Linked DNA regions of Homo sapiens: region 1 is linked to region 2. The links are contacts of gene promoters, found by promoter capture Hi-C in human tissues and cell types (Jung and others, 2019). All regions are on one chromosome and are shown on one strand. Each heading gives the region's core, a stretch centred on a gene start or on the middle of the fragment in contact. The rest is flanking DNA. Distances are from core to core; before and after follow the strand shown.

Region 1 (3,329 bases), core at 71-2,570, 260 kb after region 2:
TTGTAATTATTATAATATTTTATTATAATTATTTATTTTATTTTATTTATTTATTTCTTTTAACAGATGAAAGTCTCTCTAGGTTTCCCAGCCCAAAGACCTGGTCTCAAGCAATCCTCCACCTCAGCCTCCTGAGTAGCTGAGACTACATGTGTGCACCACTGTGACCAGCTGATAACTTAATTTTTTTGTTTGTTTGTTTGTTTGTTTTTTTTAGACAGAGTTACGCTCTGTCGCCTAGGCTGGAGTGCATTCGAGTGATCTCGGGTCACTGCAGCCTCGATCTCTGGGCTCAAGCAATCCTTCTACCTTAGCCTCCGTAGTAGCTGGGACTACAGGTGCATACCACCATACCCAGTTAATTTTTATATATTTTTTGTAGAGATGGGGTTTCTCCATGTTGCCTGGGCTGAGGTGGAAGGATTGCTTGAGTCCGTGGAGCTATGGATATTACAGAAACCAATTGGGTGGCTCACGTCTATAATCCCAGCACTTTGGGAGGCCGAGGCGGGAGGGTCACCTGAAGTCAGGAGTTTGAGACCAGCCAGGCCAACATGGCAAAACCCAGTCTCTACTAAAAATACATAAATTAGCTGGGCATGGTGGTGGGCACCTGTAGTCCCAGCTACTCGGGAGGCTGAGGCAGGAAAATCACTTGAACCTGGGAGGCTGCAGTGAGCCGAGATCGTGCCACTGCACTCCAGCCTGGGCGACAGAGGGAGACTCCAACTCAAAAAAAAAAAAAAAAAAAAAGGACAGGTGTGGTGGCTCACGCCTGTAATCTCAGCACTTTGGGAGGCTGAGGCAGGCGGATCACGAGGTCAGGAGATCGAGACCATCCTGGCTAAGATGGGGAAACCTCGTCTCTACTAAAAATACAAAAAAATTAGCTGGGCGTGGTGGTGGGCGCCTGTAGTCCCAGCTACTCGGGAGGCTGAGGCAGGAGAATGGTGTGAACCCAGGAGGTGGAGCTTGCAGTGAGCCAAGATCAAGCCACTGCACTCCAGCCTGGGCAACAGAATGAGACTCCATCTCAAAAAAAAAAAAAAAAAAAAAAAAAAGGAACCATAATTCTTCGTTTTCCACATTGAATTTCAAATGCAGCAGGTATATATGAAGCAACTACCATGGGTGAGCTATTCGGAGAGAACCAGGACATAGTCTTGTCTACCAAGAACTTAGAGCCTAGGTAGAAGAAAGGAGACGTTTACCCACATATTTTATATCTGTAACATAAGGTAGAGCATCTGGTCAGTCTAGTGTATCTATCCTGATTGCTCAAGGGAACAAATCACCTTTCCAGACATTCAGAATTGTCTGATAATCCTTTTTGGCAAAAACGTTCGCTTGTTTTCTGTTACTCTTTCATCCTGCTGCTACTTTTGTTCTGGAGGTCGGGCTGTTGAAGGGAGGATGGTACAAAGGTAGCAGCGACAGGGGTCAGCAGTCCACAGATTGCACACTTTTCCCTCAGATGATGAGAGTTAACTGTACGTCTGCAGGTTAATTCTTAAGGTAATTAAATACCTGATGAAAACTTGTAGAATTTATTTCTGAATTTTAGTAGTGACCTGGATATTTAAAGCACTATTTACCTTTTTTCCAGAATTATTTTAATAGTATTAGTTACATTTCTGTAGTGCTATCTATGTGCTAGATGATTTTCTAAATGCCTTATTTAATCCTTATGTCAACTGTGAGGTAAGTACTATTGTGTCCCCATTTACTCACAAGAAAACTAAGGTTAATTGACTTTTCTAGAGTTACATAATAAAGGAGACATAAAGTTGGGATTTGAACCCAGGCAGCCTGGCTCCAGAGTCCATGCTTTTAACCAGTAGTAAGCTGTGTTGCAAAAGAATGTGAGCACCACATGGCAAAATAGGATTTTTGGTTTTTCTGATGGGAGATGAAGAACATATCCTCTGCCTCTTGTGTCTTGCCACAACTAGGTGGCATACCTATCTCTGCTGTAGGAAATACTTGGAAATAAAACATATCCATAGGAATCCCTGCCCCTAGCTTCCTCCTTGCTTGGTGTCCTCTCTGTGATGGTCACAGAGCAGTTTTGCATGTGACATTTACTGTCCAGTGCTTGGCTCTGCAGAGAAGATGGGATTGACCTAGTGCTGGGTAGGAAGTGTGTTTTCAGCCTGTTTCATCCAGTATTGTGAAGCATGTGTTTGTTTTTTTGTTTTCAGTGTGATAGTTTTATTTAAGAAATGTTAATAGAAATAATTTTCAAACATCCATTAATTGAAAAAATAAGGTGGTATAATAAAACTTTATTTTTTGATTCTATATGTATACAGCTGCCCTGAATATATTCCACTCTTGTGCAAGGGTAATTGCTTCTGGGCATTTCCTGCTAAAAACAGTAACATAATTTTGACTTCTGTTTATTTCTAGGAACCCTAAGGACTCTGCAATATGAATAATTCCCTAGAGAACACCATCTCCTTTGAAGAGTACATCCGAGTAAAGGCACGGTCTGTCCCGCAACACAGGATGAAGGAATTTCTGGACTCACTGGCCTCTAAGGGGCCAGAAGCCCTTCAGGAGTTCCAGCAGACAGCCACCACTACCATGGTGTACCAACAGGGTGGGAACTGCATATACACAGACAGCACTGAAGTGGCTGGGTCTTTGCTTGAACTTGCCTGTCCAGTCACCACCAGTGTTCAGCCACAAACCCAGCAAGAACAGCAGATCCAGGTTCAGCAGCCGCAGCAGGTTCAGGTATATGGGAAATGCTGAGGTGCAGCCTGTTTAATGTACTTTATTTGTTGTCAGTGTTTTAGTTAGTGGGCTCATCACATCTATGTGGATGTTATAGGTTATTTAACACTAAGATTTTCAAAGTTAATGTGGACTAAAAGTTTTTTCTTTCTTCTCCTTTTTCTTTAAGCTTTTTTTTTTTTTTAAACAAACCCCAGTGTCAAGGACTGACTTTGAATAGATTGCAGCCAGGGATCTGCTTAGCTACCTAGGAAACCCCAACCCAGAAGCGGGTCATCTATGATTGGTTTAGCATCAGGTTCAACGTGACTTGCGTGATGAGTGAGGGGGCGCCACCTTTCTGGCAGCACCTTTTCCCAGGATGAGGGGCTCTCCACACCGGAACCCGGTCCCGGCACGTGACCCCGCCGGCGGCGATGTCAGTGATGGTGGGGGACTGGCTTTCCGAGGCTGACCAACACTGTGGTGCTGCCATGTCATTGTACTTGGGTTGTTTTCTTTGTTTGTTTCTTCTTTTTTTGAGATGGAGTCTTGCACTGTGGTCCAGGATGGATTCTCCTGCCCCAGCCTCCTGAGTAGCTGGGATTCCA
Region 2 (3,121 bases), core at 352-2,851:
AGTAGAGAAGGGGTTTCACCATATTAGCCACGCTGGTCTCGAACTCCTAACCTCGTGATCTGCCCGCCTCGGCCTCCCAAAGTCCTAGGATTACAAACATGAACCACCGCGCCGGACGCCCGGTCTTTTTTTTTTTTTTTTTTTAAGACATTTCGGTCTCCACGTTGGTCAGGCTGGTCTCGAATGCCCGACCTCAGGTGATCCTCCTGCCTCGGCCTCCCAAAGTGCTGGGATTACAGGTGTGAGCCACCGCGCCCGGCCGGTTCACACCCTTTATTTGTATTTATTTTTTTTTTTTTGAGACAGGGTCTCACTTTGCCGTCCAGTCTCAAGTGCAGTGGCGCCATCTCGACTCACTGCAACCTCGACCTCCTGGGCTCAAGGGATCTTCCTACCTCAGCCTCCCAAGTACCTGGGACCACAGACGCGAGCCACTGCCCGGCTATTTTTTGTATTTTTTTGTAGAGACGGGATTTCGCTATGTTGCCGAGGTTGGTCTCTAACTCCTGGGCTGAACCTATCCTTCCGCCTCAGCCTCCCAAAGTGCTGGGACGACAGGCTTGAACCACCGCGCCCGGCCTGGTTCACACACTTTAATGGCACTTACCACATACTGCTAGGCATTGAGGTTATTTCTGTAACATCTCTTCTTTTCTACTAGATTCTATGAGGGCAGGAACTAGGTCTTATTTTTCTCTGAGGACAAGGACTGTTAGACAAGTGTATGGAGACGCATCTAGACCAACTGCCTGACTTCCTCTTTCCTCTGGGTTTACTTCTCCCTCCAAGAGGAGGGTTGTGTGTGTGAGCGGGGCGACTGGAAAACATAGTGTTCAGGACGTTGTATCTTGTTCCAGGAACTAAGTACACGCCTGGGTAACTAATGTGGAGTACCTCTCCTTCCCCTGTTGCTATCGCCCCTCTGTGGCTGCTTGGCAAGTAGCTCAGTATGAAGAGCTGACGGAATTCTGCGGTGGGCCAGGTGGCTCTGGCGTCGACTGTTTAAGGCGACTGTTAATGACTACAACACACCATTGAGTCTTGGTCCCAAGGCGCTGGTGCACATGGTACTTCCCGAAATCCCTGTAGGGCCGCTGGAGCAGGAGCCCCGATCCCACGTTTGGGCAGCTGACTCGCCTAAGGCCTCCAGCTGAAAGCGGAATTGCAGGGGTGAGAATGAGCAGACCTAACTACCGGGCTTCTCGCACCTGGCCTGCATTTATTTAGGACCACGATAACCTCGAAGGCCAGGCTGGGGTGCCCGATGGGTCGTGGGCTTGCTGCCTAACTCCCTGAGATCGGCGGGCTGAACAGAGCTTCGAAGTGTAGCGCCATCCTGAGCAGAGGAAGGGGCGCCCGAAGGCCGCGTAGCGGGCGGCAGGGCGGGAGGAAGTAGCAGCTGCTGCTCCCCGCCCACCCCTCTCGCGTGTGCCTTTCCGCTCCACTGTTCGCCGGTGAGCTAGGTGGCGCGAGAGCGGAGGGGAGAAAAGACAGCGGCTGCAGGAGCCGAAGGCCGCGGCTCGAGGTGGGGCAGGGGCGGGCACGCGAGCGTGCGTGCGTGGGCGCGGTCTATAGCACGCCGCGCGCGGGGCGGATGTCCGGGCCGGCTGGGCCGGGGCCGCGGAGGAGATGGCGGAAGGTGGAGGCTGCCGTGAGCGACCGGATGCGGAGACTCAGAAGTCCGAGCTTGGACCCTTAATGAGGACCACACTCCAACGCGGGGCGCAGTGGTGAGCTCCCGGCTCGCTCTTCCTCTATGCAGAACCAGGGGCCGAGAAAAAGGGGCCTCCTTTTTCTCGGCTAGAGTAGGGGCTGGGCGGGGATGGTATGTAGTGACCCTGGAAGAGTAGCCTGACACCTGCCCCTCAGGAGAATAACTCCAGGATCAGCTCTGGGAAAGCGCAGGCGGGGCCTGAGTGTCGTCTCAGTTCATTTGGAGCCCTAGGGGGCGGGCCCGGCGGGGGCCAGGAGGAGGGATGTGGAGAAGGGGAAGGTTGGTGGGGACCCTAAGGGTGGGGAGAGCCCTTTACCATGAGGACTCGCCGTGTGACCTTGGGCGAAGGTGTCACAGACCTGGATTCCTCACTGTTAAAACCAGGATAGCAATATTTGGCTCACCGACCTCAGTGGGTTGAGGGGAAAATCAGAAGTAGATACTTTGTAACTTGTAAACTGCCAACAGATGTCAAGGTCAGAAGCTGAACAAATGTCTGAGAACCCCGATTATTTTGGTAGCAAGTGTCAAAAATATTTGCGGCAGCAGTGTCTTGGAGTGGGAGAGGAGGATAGCCTAGGTCCTGGAGCTAGATAGAAGATGAAGGGTCCAGAATTTAGAAGACCCAGGCTGAGTTATTAGGCATCTTAATAGATTGTTTAGTAGAGGGGACAATACTTTGTACTACTGGAGAGATTCCTGGGTGGTGTAATTGTGTAGGAGTAGAAAAACTAAGGCTAGACTTTGCATCGAGTATGATTGTTACCCATCTTGTTTGTTTTGTTTTGTTTTGAGATGGAGTTTCACTCTTGTTGCCCAAGCTGGAGTGCAGTGGCGTGATCTTGGCTCACGGCAACCTCCGCCTCCCGGGTTCAAGCGATTCTCCTGCCTCAGCCTCCCGAGTAGCTGGGATTACAGGCTCACGCCACCACACCCAGCTAATTTTTTGTATTTTTAGTAGAGACCGGGTTTCACCATGTTGGGTAGGCTGGTCTCAAACTCTTGACCTTATGATCCACCCGCCTCGGCCTCCCAAAGTGCTGGGATTACAGGTGGGAGCCACCGTGCTCGGCCCGAGTGTTACCTATCTTTAAGAAATCATTGTGGTGATGATCTGCCGAGGAATTGAGCAGGAGAATAGAAAAATTGGGGTTAGGAGGAGTACAGATAACAGCTTATGTATTCACCTTGAGCTAACCAGTTTGTGAAAGGCAGGGTAAACAGAGGTACTTTTTTTGTGTTTTCTTTTCTTTTCTTTTCTTTTTTTTTTTTTTTTTGAGAAGGAATTTCGCTCTTGTTGCCCATGCTGGAGGGCAATGGCGCGATCTCGGGTCACGGCAACCTCCCCCTCCCATGTTCAAGCGATTCTCCTGCCTCAGCCTCCCCAGTAGCTAGGATTACAGGCAT

What was found. Contacts are between HindIII fragments. The study calls those that stand out against the background at their distance.
Region 1: a contact is called between a fragment that was not itself captured here and the fragment with the promoter of USP4 in region 2, in 2 of the 25 tissues and cell types used here (adrenal gland and liver).

The regions. Positions count from the first base shown.
Region 1 is chr3:49,076,119-49,079,447 of GRCh38, reverse strand. It overlaps QRICH1 (glutamine rich 1), which reads left to right. Exons shown (of 10, transcript NM_198880.3): 2 at 2,410-2,739. The coding sequence starts at 2,431. Among named protein-coding and RNA genes, the nearest start is that of QRICH1, 16 kb to the left of the region's middle. The HindIII fragment of the contact is 7,025 bases long and covers 1-3,329 here.
Region 2 is chr3:49,338,533-49,341,653 of GRCh38, reverse strand. USP4 (ubiquitin specific peptidase 4) reads left to right here and starts at 1,601. Exons shown (of 22, transcript NM_003363.4): 1 at 1,601-1,730. The coding sequence starts at 1,630. RefSeq lists enhancers at 981-1,040, 1,131-1,300, 931-1,430 and a silencer at 1,471-1,660. The HindIII fragment of the contact is 25,899 bases long and covers 1-3,121 here.